Linked DNA regions of Homo sapiens: all the other regions are linked to region 1. Evidence: promoter capture Hi-C in 16 types of primary human blood cells and fetal thymus (Javierre and others, 2016). All regions are on one chromosome and are shown on one strand. Each heading gives the region's core, a stretch centred on a gene start or on the middle of the fragment in contact. The rest is flanking DNA. Distances are from core to core; before and after follow the strand shown.

What was found. The method cuts DNA at HindIII sites, captures the fragments that hold promoters and counts their contacts. A CHiCAGO score of 5 or more calls a contact.
Region 2: the fragment with the promoter of FBL here is called in contact with the fragment with the promoter of HNRNPL in region 1 in 1 of 17 cell types (neutrophils); the score reaches 9.1 in neutrophils.
Region 3: the fragment with the promoter of RPS16 here is called in contact with the fragment with the promoter of HNRNPL in region 1 in 1 of 17 cell types (neutrophils); the score reaches 6.2 in neutrophils.

What each region holds. Positions count from the first base shown.
Region 1 is chr19:38,847,779-38,852,772 of GRCh38, forward strand. HNRNPL (heterogeneous nuclear ribonucleoprotein L) reads right to left here and starts at 2,208. Exons shown (of 13, transcript NM_001533.3): 1 at 1,922-2,208. The coding sequence starts at 2,188. RefSeq lists enhancers at 469-1,407, 1,246-1,335, 1,408-2,345, 2,496-2,585, 2,916-2,985 and 1 more and silencers at 1,536-2,075, 2,086-2,345, 4,066-4,445. The HindIII fragment of the contact is 20,955 bases long and covers 1-4,994 here.
Region 2 is chr19:39,844,006-39,848,999 of GRCh38, forward strand. FBL (fibrillarin) reads right to left here and starts at 2,374. Exons shown (of 9, transcript NM_001436.4): 1 at 2,286-2,374. The coding sequence starts at 2,295. RefSeq lists an enhancer at 1,179-1,919. The HindIII fragment of the contact is 4,240 bases long and covers 709-4,948 here.
Region 3 is chr19:39,433,934-39,438,927 of GRCh38, forward strand. RPS16 (ribosomal protein S16) reads right to left here and starts at 2,016. Exons shown (of 5, transcript NM_001020.6): 1 at 1,915-2,016; 2 at 1,674-1,775. The coding sequence starts at 1,962. RefSeq lists enhancers at 1,210-1,789, 3,453-4,221 and a silencer at 2,170-2,269. The HindIII fragment of the contact is 27,347 bases long and covers 1-4,994 here.

The sequences.
Region 1 (4,994 bases), core at 958-3,457:
GTAGCTGGAAAAGGAGATACACTGGCAGCAAGGGCTCTAACAGCTATCTGCTACAGTTTGAATGAGGACATCCCCTTTGCATGTGCCCCAAATTCCTTGCCCTTTAACTGGCTGAGCCACCATCATCTAGCTAAGCACACCTGTTCCCCACCACTCACACCCAGGTTCAGTCAGGGCAAAAAACAACACATGCCCCAGAAACTGGGGCAGCCAGGCCAGTCTTGACCCCTTCTAGTCTTGAATCGCCCTCCCACCAAAATCTGCTTTGGAAATTACTGCCTAGGTCAGACTAAGAAAAACCAGACAAGAAAAGTCTTTTATTTATTTTTTGAGATGGAGTCTCACTCTGTCACCCAGGCTGGAGTGCTATGGCGTGATCTTAGTCCACTGCAACCTCCGCCTCCCAGGTTCAAGCGATTCTCCTGCCTCAGCCTCCCGAGTAGCTGGAATTACAGGCCCTCGCCACCACACCTGGCTAATTTTTTTGTATTTTTAGTAGAGACGGAGTTTTGCCATGTTGACCAGGCTGTTCTCGAACTCCTGACCTCAGGTAATCTGCCTGCCTCAGCCTCCCAAAGTGCTGGGATTATAGGCATGAGCCCCCACTCCCGGATGGAAAGTCTTTTAGAAAGACCAGAGACTCCAACCCATACCATTAAGAACCGACTGCTCCTTCCTAAGAGAAGTATCTTACACCCACCGACAAAAGCCTCTGGTCATCAGGAGAAAGATTAACTCTCTTCCGCCTCTCCTGGGCTCTGGGGCCGGCCCCCTGTCTGAGAATCACTGGGCAGAAGTGCGTGGAAGGTGGGTAGAATTGGATTCTATTTCAGGAGCGATCCACGCGAACCACAGGGTGAGGCACTCCCGCCAGGTTAGCAGCTCCCACAAATGGGAGTTCTAACTCCAGCCCTGCCCCTCACTAGCTGTGCCACCTACAGTAATTCACCTCATCTCATCTCTCTCCTGGCCCATTTCCTCCTTTGTAAATCGGGAATCCCAGTATCTCCCCCAACCTCAGGAAGCGTTAAGGATTTTCAATTAAGATGTCTTTAAAATGTGTGGGACAAGGCCAAGATTAAAACGCTAGCAACTCGTAACCCCTAAACCCTGGAAAACCCTGCAAATAGGCGGCCCTGTAAGACTTCAAGATTTTGGAAAGAGTGGGGACTGGGCCCCACTCCAAAAGCAACGACTGGTGTTTTCGGAGGGACTGATTACAGGGGGTCGAAATGCTTCCAACATGGCCAGGAAATAGTTTGGTTTATCAAATCCTCGGTACCCAGTGAATCCCCGGAAACTGTAAGCAAACTTGTGATGGTTTCAAGGCTTCGCTCAACTCCTAAAAGGCTAAAAGTGCATTTCACAAGTCCTCTTCCCATTTTCAATGCCTACAAAAATGAGAGCATCTAGGCTCAAACACATCCATTTCTGTATAGACACAAGGCTGGGCCTTAGAGATTAAGCTGCCATCAGACGGAATTCCCCACTCTAGAGAACAAGGCCGCCGCCCACCCGTTCCCGCTCACCAGGCGCTCCCCTAACCGCCCACGAGGCCGGGCGGGAACACTGCGCCTGCGCATGGAGCCAGCGAAGAAAATGATAAAGGGGAAAAAAACCGGCCGGGCCGCGTGCCCGGCCCCCACACGCCAGCCCGCGGCGCCTGCGCACTGGGCCATTCGCCTCACGAGCTACTTCCTCTGCGCTCCCCCACACCCCGCTCCGGACCCCGCGCACGCGCAGGCGCCTGTCCTCGCGCAAACCCCGCCGTTTGCCCAACGGCCGCCCCTCCCCCACACCGTCAACGACGCGATGGCCTGGGCGCGTGCGCAGAGGCCCCCCTCAAAAAATAAAATGCCCTCAAGCTGGGAAATTGTCCCCCAGTTCCCGGCCTTCCCAGCGCCTAGGGCCCTGGCCTCACCCCACCGCCGCCGCCGCCCGCCGCCCCGGCTCCTCCACCGCCACCGCCGCCGCCTCCGTGCTGGTCGCCGGCGTTGTCAGTCTTGAGCCGCTTAGGGGCCCGGCCGCCCTCACTGCCGCCGCCGTAGTAGCGGCCACCGCCGCCTCCGCCGCCCGCCGCCGCCATCTTCACCATCGCTCCCGACCGCCTCCGCTGCTCGTCCGGCTGCTGCCTCTGCTCCAGCCGCCGACGCCGCTTCTCCGCCCGGGGCAGCAGCCTCCGCGACATGGCGGCGCAGAACCCGCCTCCCCCCGCCTCTCATTGGGGGAGGGACACGCCCGTCACCCGCCGCCCCCACCCGATAGGGGGAGCCACTGGTCCCGCCGCGGGGGGAGGGTAGGCCGCCACACGCCTTGCGCGCTTATTGGACATTGCCCACGCCGTTCTGCAGGAGGGCCCGCCCTTGTTTGTCTGAGACACTCCTTATAGGTGGTCGCTTTCTGCCAGTCTTTCCGTCGACCCCGCCGCCTTAAAATAAAATCCAATTTGATAGGTCGGATTTCTGGCGCTGCTGGCCTCCCTAAAAGCACCTGATAGGAACGGCGCTCTAAACCTCCCAAGAATCTCCGCCTCCCTCCCACTTTCATTGGTCTCCTCGCTAATCCGTCAGCACCAGTCACAATGACGACCTTCCCGCGCCACTTCGCAAGGAGACAAGGAAGCCCCGCCCTTTTTTGGTCTCTCTCCAGTGGTGGTTACAGATGCCCATTCTTCTGCGTCTCCACTGATTGGTCAATGGAGAGTGGAGCGCACCCTCTCACCAGATGGTAGGACTGTTGATACGCTCTGATTGGATGAAATGGGGAGCCCCGCCCCAGGGTAGGCGCTCTTTGGTGCAGTATACGAAACGAGCGAAGGCGAGAACGCATGCGCAAATACGCTTTCAGGCACCGCCCAGAGGCGGGGCCCCCTTATGGAGCGACCGCTGTGTGTGCGCCGGAAGGCTAGACCAAGATTGACAGGAACTCCCAGGGTATCTCTGTCGCCATCACTATACCGTGTTCATTTCTACCTCTAGGAGGAATTGTTAAAATCCCAAATCTGAGCCTTTTCCTCAGTAGAAAACCACTCGCTGCTGCCGACTGTCTTCGGACCCTGTCCAGTTCTAAATTCAGCCGCAACCCCTTTCAGTTTCCCTTGGGAGAAGGCTCTTCCGCGCACTCTCCATGTGTGCCCATGCAGTCCCTTCCACCTGCAATAGTCCACTACCCCTCCTGCAGGAGCTAAGGGCCAAGTCATCTTGTCCGTGCGATCTAAATTAACAGGTCCCTGCCATCCCAGACCCCCAGGATTCCCTTCAAAGCCATAACTCGGGCCAGTGGTTTTCACCTGACAGCTCGACCCCTCTGAGCACCACAGGAGGTCCTGGCCCCGACCCTGGAGAGGGTGGCCACCTACCAAGCGCCCAGTACAGCACCTGGCACAGTGCAAGCCCCCTGCACAGGGGAGGCGTTCTTGTGATCTGTGCCTGCGTCGGGCCTTTCTTCCTCAAGGGCGGGGTAAGACCACCCGCACTGCACCAAGAGAATGTCGGAGGGTATCTCCAGACTCCGGCGAAGCCCAACTGGCGGAGCCTGGGGGGTGGAGAGGAGCGCGCCCCAGTTATCACGCGCAGGCAGCGGGGTCAAACGGGGATTAACCCGGGATCCCGTCCTACGGCATTTAACATTATGGGGCTGCCCGCGCAGGGTGTGGGGGGGAACACCTTAGCGAAGCTATTGGCAAGTGACGATATCGCCAAAGGGGGGAAAAGAAATAAAAGCGAAGCTAGCGTCGTGAGAAACGCGGCGGACGCCCCAAAAGTGCTCCAGGACCTTTCTGCCCGGCTGATGGGGGATTTCGAGTTGAGGTCCGGGTGGAAACTAAGTTTGAAATGGAGGCCGTGTGTGGTGGCTCACACCTGTAATCCCAGCACTTGGGGAGGCCAAGGCGGAAGGCTCGCTTGAGCCCCGGATTTCGAGGTTGCAGTGAGCCGTGATCGCGCCCCTGCACTCCAGCGTGGGCGACGGAGCGAGACCCTATCAGAAAAAATGGGGTTTATGGCAATACAAGAGGGGACAGGCCTGGTGGCTCTGCCGGTGAGGGGAAATAAAGTTAGGGGAGGGGGCCTTGCTGGGGACCTCGGTCAGCTCCCCCGGACACCAGGAAGATCCGACCACGCCAACGGAACAGAGACGGGGGCGGGGCCGCGTCTGAAGCACGTGGCCCGCGTGACGGGAGGAGGCCGGGCCGGTCGCGACGAAGGGCGGGGTCGCTCCGTCCCAACGTCAGAGGAATGCGGTGGGGGGAGGGGGAGAGAGAGGGCCCCTCCCCTCCCCGCCCCCGCGGCCGGCCCGGACGCCCCTCGCGCCGGCGCGCACGGCCGGAGCACGGCGGAACGGTCTCCCCGGCGCCGCACGTTCCAGGCCGCCGGCCCGGCCTGGTGACCCGCACCCCCCGCGCTCCCGGCCACCGCCCCGCCCCCACCCCGCTGCTCGGACCCTGGCCCCCGGCCGCGCGCGGCGCCGCCCGCCAGTGCCCCGGTCACCTTCCCGCACCCCTCGCCCCCAGCCCCTACCAGCTCGGCGGCGAGCCTGACCGGCCGTCCCGGATCGAAAAGAGCAGACACTGGGAAGTTTTGGGAGAGGGAGGGGCGGGCCTTAAAGGGACCACGACCTTTTTTCAGCCCCGTGGGGGGAAGAAAAATTGGGGGCAGGGGGCGCGGGAGCGGGGACACGGCAGGAGACCGAGGGTCGCCCCGCGGGGGAATGGAGGAAACCAGGCGAGAAAGGAGCGGGAAGACCTTGGAGCCGCGGTGTTCGGGCTCCGCGTCCCTTTTCCCCAAAAATCCACCCCCGCCCCCCGCAGACGGAAAGTCACGCAGTTGTTTGAGACTCGCGCATCTTTCCTCCTGGTCAGGCAAGTGTCTTGGCTGAGGCAAGTGTTTGGGGTGTACATTGCTCACATAAGGAAATGGGCTGGAGGGACGCAAGTGACTAACCCAGGATGCCACAGCTTGCAAGTGGCATGGCGGGGCTGGTCTGACGCCGGAGCA
Region 2 (4,994 bases), core at 1,124-3,623, 1.0 Mb after region 1:
AAAGATGAAAATGTAACTTTTAATAGCTACTCCTAATTTGATCTTTTAAAATGAAGTTTCCTTTTCAAAACTCTAGAACATAACTAAGAGTTGTTCACTTTTTAATGTTCTACTCCCCCTACAGTCCACTTTCCACACAGCAACTAATAAGTGCTGTTTTTGAAACAGCAACTCAGATCTCAATTTTCTTGCCCAAGCCCTCCAACAGTTTTCCAAAGCCAAGACCTTCATTTAGGGGAGATGCCACAGCTAGGCTTATGAAAGTCTCAACCCAGGCCTAACAGAAAGGAAGTACTGGCATGTGCTTGGGGCGGAGTGGGCATGAGTGTAAACTTTCAATCCCAGATACTCAAAACATCTCAATCCGTTTCAGGTCCTGGAGCTTTTGGGGGAAAATGTACCAAAAGTACCCAGTCCTCAGAAAAAACACATGTTCACACAAACTTTTCCAGTAAGTTCTTTTTTTGGGGGGAGGGGGGTCCATAAACCCCCTGATTTAAAATCTGCTCTCCTTCCACAGCCTTCTCCATCTCAAAAATGGCAATTCCATCCTTCCAGTTACACACCCCCAAACCCTTGGTTATCCTTGACTCCGATCACACACCCACATACAATCTGTTGGTTCTGTCTTCAAAAGCATGTAAAACTGTCAGCATGTCCACTGCTCCCATCCTGGTCCACCACACCATCTCCTAGATTACAGCAACAAGCTTCCCACCAATGTGCCTGCTTCCACTTTTGCCACCCTGAGGTCTTTCACACATCGAAGCAAAAAGAATCCCTTTTAAAAATGTCAGACTGCACCACGCCCCTGCTCAAAAATCTCCCAAAGGGTTCTTTTCTCACTCAGGCTAAAATCCTTACTAAAGAGCTAACACCTGACAACTTTTACAACTTCACATTCTACCACACATGGAGGAAGGTTGGAAGAACGGGTATCCTCCATTTATGAGGGAATCACAGACCAGAATGCCTGCAGGCAAGCCAGGATCTCAGCATACCTGGCCTACAATCCCCCACCCCACTTCATCAAGAGATCCCCAAACACGGAAGAGAAAGGGAACTTGGGAGAAGGGCACAGATCCACAAATCTCCTGCCAGGTGACCCCCATCTCTCCACACAAACACACACACAAAAGAAAAAGAAAGCCTGTACTAGGAAAACAGACCCTTTGGGCCATGGTGGAAATTCTCCAAACTCAATGAAGCAAGTTCTCACACAGATGAGTGCGGGTTGGGCAGGCCAGATGGAGGAAGTGCTCAGGCACCACCGAGAAGGATTCTAATGTTGTTCTCTTTGAGAAAGATAAAGGTAACAATTAGAGCTAATACTATTATATGTCAAGCACTGTGCTATTTTTTTTAACGTCGCTTAATCCTAACTGGCGCCATTTTATTGATGAGAAAACAGAGGCTCAGAGAGGTAAAGCCACTTGCCCAAGTTCACACAGCAGGCTAAGAAGCTGAGCAAGAGCTGACACACTGAACTGAGGCCCTTCTGCTGTCAAAGCCAGGACCCCCTCATCATTCCACCATGAAGGGAGTGGTTTCAGCAGAATCTAGTGGAAAATCTTAAGAATAAAACTACTTACCTCCTGTGACAACCACCCGCCCCACCACCCCAGACTAATGCCGAGCTTGTTAAGTCTCGTCCCGGAGGTGGAAATCTTAATCCCCAAATCTCCACTCCATCCCCGGGGATCCGCCCCACTGTAAGTGCAGAAGGCGGGAAAGTGAGCCGAAGAGCGCCGCACACGGCCAACCGGGGAGTCCTCATCCACTCCGGCCCACTCGGAAAAGCTGGGATGCGGGATAAGGGGATGGTGGTGGTGGCAGCGACAGGGAAGGCAAATGGGGGCTTCCCACACACAGCTCCAGGACCCAAGGTCAGGAACTCTCCATCTCCGACCCAAGCCTGATTCCCAAAACACGCCCAGCGATCCAAGACTCCAGATGCCTGAATCCAAACTCTAGCCCAAGACCCTTGAGTGCCGCCTCCTGCCCAATATCCAAAATCCCTATTAGACGGCCTCAATGAGACGAACCCCACGTCAACACCCCCAATGCCAGGCCCACGGCCTTCTTCGACTCACGACCGTGACCTCTGAAGCCAGTCACAAACCCCTAGACCTGCTGGAATCAGAATCCCCCTTCCCACAGGAGACTGGAACCCGTGCTCAGAACCCCTGCCCCCAGGCCAAGGCCCCACCCCTCCGATTCTGGCCTGGCACCCGGATTCCCGCCCGGCCTCCGTCCCTGACCCCGGACCCTCACCCCAGCCTGACCTGGCTTCATGGCGAGCCCTGGTTTGTGCGGCTCCGGAGTCCGCGGCGTTCACAACTCCACGAGTCCGGGGCTTTCGCACGTGGAAAAGAGCGCAGGCGCGCGGCGACGTGCGCTGCGTGACGCCACCCCGTAGTCCCGCCCCCGGGCCCCTTCCCCGCCCGGAGCTCGGCGCACGCGCAGTGAGCCTGGATTCTCGAGCCTGTCGACACGCAACCCGCTGCCCTCGCTCTCTGCCTTCCCAGCCTTTGCCTGTGCAGCGGTCGCCCTAAACTCGCTTCCGGTTTCCTCTTCCCCAATGCGAGCACCCCAATAATCAGGGCTCATAGCCTTCGCACGGGCTGTGCCCTCTTTTGTATTCCTAGCTAAATCCCTCTGGCCCCTGTACACCCAAAAAGGCTTCCCCAATACATTTCCAGCCCCAAGAACAGTGACCGACTCTGGGCTTCCATTCAAACATCCGAAAAACATTTACAGTGCACCTCGTGTGTACCAGGTGCTGTTCTAGGAGCTGGGAATACAGCGGTGTACGAGACATAAAAATCTCCACTCTCCTGGAGTTCATCTTTTTAATGGAGGAAATAGACACCAAACATGTTGAATGTTTGAAAGCGATAAGTGCTTTGGAGAAAATAACAGCAGGGAAAGGGGATAGAGATTTTGGAGGGCAAATGATTTTTGTTTTTTTGGCACGGTGGTCAAGGAATGCATCAGGAGACTTTTGAGCTAAAGGGCTGAAGGAAGTGAGGAGTGAGGCATGCACCTATCTAGGGGAAGAGAGTTCCAGGCAGGGAAAAGATCTGCAGATGCAGAGGCCCTGAGGAAGGAAAGATATGGGAAGTTGGAGAGACAATGAGGAGGGTGGGTGGGGCAAAGTGAGCAAGGTGGAGAGTAAGAGGAGATAAGGGCGGGTAGCTAACAAGGGCAGATTGTGCGGAGCTTTGTGGGACATAGTGAGGACTTAGGCAGTAAGATGGAACCATGGAAGGGTTCCAAGCAGAGAAGGAATGTGATCTGACACAGGTCCCTCTGGCTGCATGTGGGAAGCAGACTGCAGGAGTGAGGGTGAAAGCAGGAAAACCAAGGACTGGCTGCTGCCGTGAATCAGAAGAAAAGGATGGACAGATCAGAGTGGGGGCAGAGAGCGGCGTCAGGGGTCAACAGATTCTGCTTAAGTATTAAGAATTTTGGGCTTTGTAATTGTGTAATATCAGTATCCATCCCTATATTCATTCTGCAAAGCAAGACAACTGCTGTTATGAGAAGTTACCGAAAAACTCCAGAAGAACCTACCAGTCCAGAGCCTAGATGTTGACTCTGTTCCATTCACTGCTCTATCACTCTAGGCCTAGGACAGCCCTCTGGGTGCCCAGTAAATGTTTGTTGAATGAATGGATGGCCTCATACCGTTGTGAGTTCTCTGTGTACAGTGTTCCAGCTGTGGAATGCCACCAATTTGCACAGAAACATTCCTGAAAGATTGTTTAGATATTATGATGGAAAATCTGCTTAAACTTTTCAGAACCGGTCGGGGCAGTGGCTCACACCTGTAATCCAGGCACTTTGGGAGGCCGAGGCAGGAGGATCGCTTGAGCCCAGGAGCTTAAGGCCAGCCTGGGCTACAGAGTGAGACCTTATCTTTACAAAAAATAAAAAATTAGCTGGGTATGGTTGCTTGCACCTGTAGTCCCAGCTACTCAAGAGGCTGAGGCAGGAGGATCCTTTGAGCCCAGTAGGTCTAGGCTGAAATGAGCCATGACTGCACCACTACACTCCAGCCTGGGTCACAGAGCGACACCCCTGTCCCAAAACAAAAACAAAAACCAAACAAAAAAAACTTTTTAAAAACTATGAGATGAAATAGTTGAGTCTATTCTGGATTTCTAGATGTGCAATGATTCCAGTGGGTCCAATTCCGGATAATGTTACCTATTTCACATGGATTTTACTATTTGCCTTCTAATTAATATTTTTCTTCTAAAGGACAAAAGTACTCAGAGTGCAGTGCAGATTTAGGGGATTCCAGCCCTATTTCTTGGAATCCTGGCACCATCTCCTGCTTCTGAGATACTTTGCCTGCTAGCTTGCTCTGAAGACCTGAAATTGGCTCTATCGGTAAGTAATTAGTGGTGGAGGTGCCTGTTGGTCTTGTGCTGGGGACACAATGGTGGCTAAAACAGCCCCGGGTCCTGTCCTCCTGGAGCTGCCAGTCCAATAGGAGAGACAGACAGGTTCCCAAACAGTGTTGGCCCAGAGGGGTCAGGGCTGGGACAGGCAGAGGGGTAGGAGGGCAATGGGGGAAGCACCGGCAGAAATGGGACTGGGGAGCCCCAGGCAGGGGGCTCAGGGCCAGGATAGGGGAGGCCCAGGCAGAGAGGTGGGAGGGGGATGGAGGAGACACTGGCAGGCAGGGCAGGGCAGGGATAGCGAAGCCCTTGAGGACTTTTCCCAATATTCCCCATTTCCTCAACTCCCTCTGAACCTTCCTGTGACCTTCTTGCTCTAAGGAGGACTCTGCCCTGAAGACCTCCCTTTCCAAGCGGGGCTGTTTTCTCCTTCTCGGCCTTCATGTCCACTGGATCTGTAGATGGGAGAAGAGCGTCCTTGCTCCTCACTGGCACTTCTAAACCATTGTCTCTGCCTCCTCCCTGAACCCTAGGTCTGAAGCTTACACAGTCACACTGTAGCACCTGCTCCCCTTTGTGCTGCTA
Region 3 (4,994 bases), core at 766-3,265, 590 kb after region 1:
AAAAGCCAGATATGAGACTGCTGAAGTGGTGTTAAGAAATATAGGCAAGGTAAAGGGAACAAGATCTGGGCTCCCTCCTACTTGTGTCCCTCACTGGACCTCAGACACCCTACCTCTAAGACTGGTTCTTAGAAGGCTGAACAGTAAGGAGCATTCCAATAGCTTCTGAAACTCCCAAGGCTGTTTCAAGTAGTCGAAAGCCATCCCTGGACTGTTCAGGTGCCTTTTCTATTTCCCACCTGAGCTCTCTGCCCTTTCTTTGAGCCTCACAGGTTTCCAGAATTACAGTACAACCTGTCCCTGGTCCCTAGACCCTTCCCAGCTCCAGGTCTTTTACCAGTGCCTCTGTCTGGATACTTCCTTTACCTGCTTTCAGCTCACAGGTCTCCTTCCCCAGTTCTGACCACTTTGGATCAGCTTCTGGTATTGGGCCCAGTCCTTCTCCCCAACTAGGCTGGCAGGTCCATGAAGGCAAGACCTTAAGTCATCTGGATCACTGCTATGTCCCCAAAACTCAACAGAGGGTACACATACAAATCCTTCAAATACAGTGACAGCCAATAACAGTAACATTCAACATCTGCTACACAAAGGAAATCTCAGAATTTTTATTAAATTCTAGGCCAGGCATGGTGATCACACCTGTAATCCCAGTCCAGGCAGAAGGATCACATGAGACCAAGGACCAGCCTGGGCAATAAAGTGAGACCCCACGTCTACAGAAAAATATTTCTCAAATGAGCCAGGCGTGGTGATGTGCCTGTAGTCTTGGCAACCGAAAGGCTGAGGTGGGAGGATCTCCAACTCAGGAGTTTAAGGCTGCAGTTCATTAGGATTGTGCTATTGCACTCCAGGGTAGGTGACAGCAAGATACTGTTTTTAAAAAAGAACCTTATAACTCAAAAAAAATTTTTTTAACTGACCCTGCAATGTAGATATTCTTTCTTTTAAAAGTAGTAGAGTTCAGAAGGGGCAGAAATCAGACTCTGGTTTCTTTCCATTCTGAGCCAAAGAAATTGAGAGTCCCAAAAAGGGAACAGAGGAACCCCTTTTACAAGCAAGCATTTAAACAGACCCAAATTCGGCCGCACACGGTGGCTGACGCCTGCAATCCCAGCACTTCGGGAGGCCGAGGCTGGTGGATCACCTGAGGTAATGAGTTCGAGACCACTCTGGCCAATATGGCGAAACCCCGTCTCTACTAAAAATACAAAAATTAGCCGGGCGTGGTGGTGCATGCCTGTAATCTCAGCTACTCAAGAGGCTGAGGCAGGAGAATCGCTTTAACCCGGGAGGCGAAGGTTGCAGTGATCCGAGATCGCGCCACTACACTCCAGCCTGGGCGACACAGCGAGACTCCCTCTCAAAACAAATAAATAAAATAAAAAATAGTCGGTGTCCCTTCACCCTTTGGGTCCCCCCGCCCCAGTGAGGTGAGCTTCCTAACATCCCAGTTCTCAAAGCAAACCCTTAATCTTCAACAACCCCATCTCAGCTTTTACATCTTCTGAACCCCAAGCCCAGCTCTATTGCCAAATACCCCACTGTTCTACACCCAACACAACTTCTAAACATCCCGTTGCTGATGCCAGCCCCCCCAGCTTTCAAGAGCTACAACATCTCTGTCTCCAAGAGTCCTCCATCCACTCAACGCCGGTGCCGGATCCCAGCACCTTGTACTGTAGCGTGCGCGGCTCAATCATCTCCAGGGGCCGCCCGTTCACCTTGATGAGACCATTGCCGCGTTTGCAGTGCGCCACAGCTGTCGCTGTCTTCTGTAAGATACAAGAGAAACAGGGGCCCCGTGAGCTCCGGCTCCAGCTCCCATGTTACCCCCTAGATTCCTGCCCACCGACCTCTCCCAGACCCTGGCCTTCTCCTTCCCCTCCCCTTCCCATCCGGCGTCTGGCTCACCTTGCGTCCGAAGACCTGCACAGACTGCAGCGGGCCCTTGGACGGCATGGCTCCGAGCGTGGACTAGACAACCTCACCGCGCGGCGCCGCAACCGGAAAAGGAAAGCTAGGGGCCACCCTGGCCGCTTTTCAGGGTCTGCGCAGGCGCCTTGAGCACTGCGTCGCGACGGGAGAGAGCTTTACGGCTTCTGTTGCGGCTAACGGGCGGGGCGTCTGGTCAGCGGCGGGAAGGCCCTTAGGCGCTCAGAGCGGGCGGGCCCTGTGAGGCGGAAGTGGCGGGCTCTGTGGGCGGAAGGGGCGGGGCCTGGGAGTGTCGTGTGCGGACTGAAGGGAAGGCTGCGGGAGTGTGCTTCGCGTCCTCTGTAGTCGACTACCGCAGCTCTTCTTTGCATTCTGGCTCTTTAATAATCTCCCTTCGCCCTTTCTTTAAATCAGTTCCCACCCTCCCAACACCTGTAATCTTTCTCCCCTCTGGACTCCCTCCTCCCCGAATCCCCCGCATCAGAATCTTCCTTTGGAATCTACTGCAAGAAATCTGGCTGGATTCTCAGATTAAGGACTTCCAGAATCCTATCCTCCCTAGAATCCCCCTCCTTGGGGATCCTCTCCCAGAATCCTTTTCCCCTCAGAGCCCCTTCCCCTCAGAATCTCCCTTTCACCAGAATGTCCTTCCTTTCAGTTTCCTCTTCCCAGAATGTTTCCCATCCTTCTCTCAGATGGCCAACCCCAAATGTCCCTCTTAAGAGTGCTCAACTTAGACCCCCCTTTTCCCTGAATCTCCCTCCATTCGGTCCTCGTCCCCTCAGTCACCCTTCCCAGAATCTTTCTCTTGTCAGGACCCAGTACCCCTGGAATCTCCCTCCTCCAGAATCTCCCTTTCCCGGCAAATCCCCCTTTCCCGGCAAATCCCCCTTTCCCAGAACACCCCGCCCCGCAAATCCACAAAAACTTTTCTCTCAGAGACCCGTCCCTCAAAATCTACCTTTCTCCTGAGTTTATTTCCCTTCCGAGACTCCTCTTCCCAGCAACTGCCTTCCCTGGAGTTTTCCCTCCGTTAGAATCCCCCTCTCCTAAGAGACCCTCCCCCAAGAATTAACCTCTTCCCCGTCCCCACCCTAGAATCTCTCTCTTTTTTTTGAGACGGAGTTTCGCTCGTTGCCCTGGCTAGAGTGCAGTGGTGCGATCTCGTCTCACTGCAACCTCCGCCTCCCGGGTTCAAGAGATTCTCCTGCCTTAGGCTCCCGAGTAGCTGGAATTACAGGCGTCTACCACCACGCCCTGGTCGTTTTTTGTATTTTTAGTAGAAATGGGGTTTCACCACGTTGGCCAGGCTGGTCTCGAACTCCTGACCTCAGGTGATGTGATCCGCCTCAGCCTCCCAGAGTCCTGGGATTACAGGCGTGAGCCACCACGCCCGGCCGAATCTCTCTGTTTTTTGTTTTTTTTTTTTCTTTTTTTTGAGACAGAGTCCTGCTCTGTCGCCCAGGCTGGAGTGCAGTGGCATGATCTCTGCTCACTGCAACCTCTGCCTCCCCGGTTAAAGCGATTCTCCTGCCTCAGCCTCTTGAGTAGCTGAGATTACAGGCATGCACCACCACGCCCGGCTAATTTTTGTATTTGTAGTAGAGACGGGGTTTCACCATATTGGCCAGACTGGTCTCGAACTCCTGACATCAAATGATCCACTCATCTCAGCCTCCCAAAGTGCTGGGATTACAGGCGTGAGCCACCGCGCCCAGCCCCTAGAATCTCTTTCTCCAGAATCTCCCAGTCATCTTTTTCCTCTCCCCCAAATCACCCTCCACTTAAGCCTCCTCCCCACAGAATTCTCCATCCCCAGCCCCCCAACCCCACCTGAGGAACCCCAGGATTGGGTTGTCCTCTGGTTCCCCGGCAGATGTCCCTGCGTCTCACCCCATCAAGAGTCTCCCCAGCGAAGAGGTTCCTCTCTCAGAGCTAGAGGGAGCCCACAGTTGCCTCAGTTTCTCTGGCAGTACAGGGTCTGGGATCCAGGGTTCAAAAGGGCGTCGTGGTGCACCTTGCCAAAGAGGGTGGAGACAGGGAGACACTGGAGGGCAGGTCTGGGGCCAGAGGGAAAAGCCAGCCCGGAGTCCAGCTCTAAAAGGGTGAGGGGGGAGGGGGCTGTTGGGAGGGAGGAAGGAAGTACCCAGAGGCTGACCGGGAGGGACACAGACACAGCCCAAAGAAATGTAGGCACAAGTGGAGAAGAAGAGAAAGATGAAAGGCCAAGGGAGAAGAGGAGGAGAAAAGGGAGAGACCAGGACAGTCAAGAGATGGACCCCCAAAACAAGCCCAGTGACAGATTTAGAGGCAGAGAGGCCAACCCTCAGACAAAAAAGAGATAAAGGCAGGCATGATGTTTCCAAAATACTTGAGACAGAGGCCAGGTGCAGTGGCTCACACCTATAATCCCAGCACTTTGGGAGGCCAAGGCAGCAGGATCACTCGAGCCCAGGGTTCAAGACCAGCCTGGCCAACATGGTGAAACCCCGCCTTTACTAAAAATACAAAAATCAGCTGGGCATGGTGGCAGGTGCCTGTATCCCAGCCACAAGGGAGGCTGAGGCAGGAGAACCGCTTGAACCCGGGAGGCGGAGGTTGCAGTGAGCTGAGATGTCGCCACTGCACCCTAGGCTGGGCGCCAGAGCAAGACTCTGTCTCAAAAATAAATAAATAAATAAACTCTGTCTCAAAAATAAATAAATAAAATAAAATAAATAGAGCAGAGACCTCAAATATTCACTTGCAGACACAGATAAAGGCTAGCACAGGTGTTTTCCAATGAAGACACAGGCAGATGAGAGGATGCACACATTCTACCTGTACTTTTTCTTTTTTTTTTTTTAAATTGAGATAGAGTCTGTGTCACCCAGGCTGGAATGCAGTGATGCAATCTGAGCTCACTGCAACCTCCACCTCCCCGGTTCAAGTGATTGTCCTGCTTCAGACTCTGGAGTAGCTGAGATTACAGATTCTCCTGCTTCAGACTCCTGAGTAGCCCAGATCACGGGCCTCCACCACTATGCTTGACTAATAATTTTTCTTTTTTTTTTTTGAGA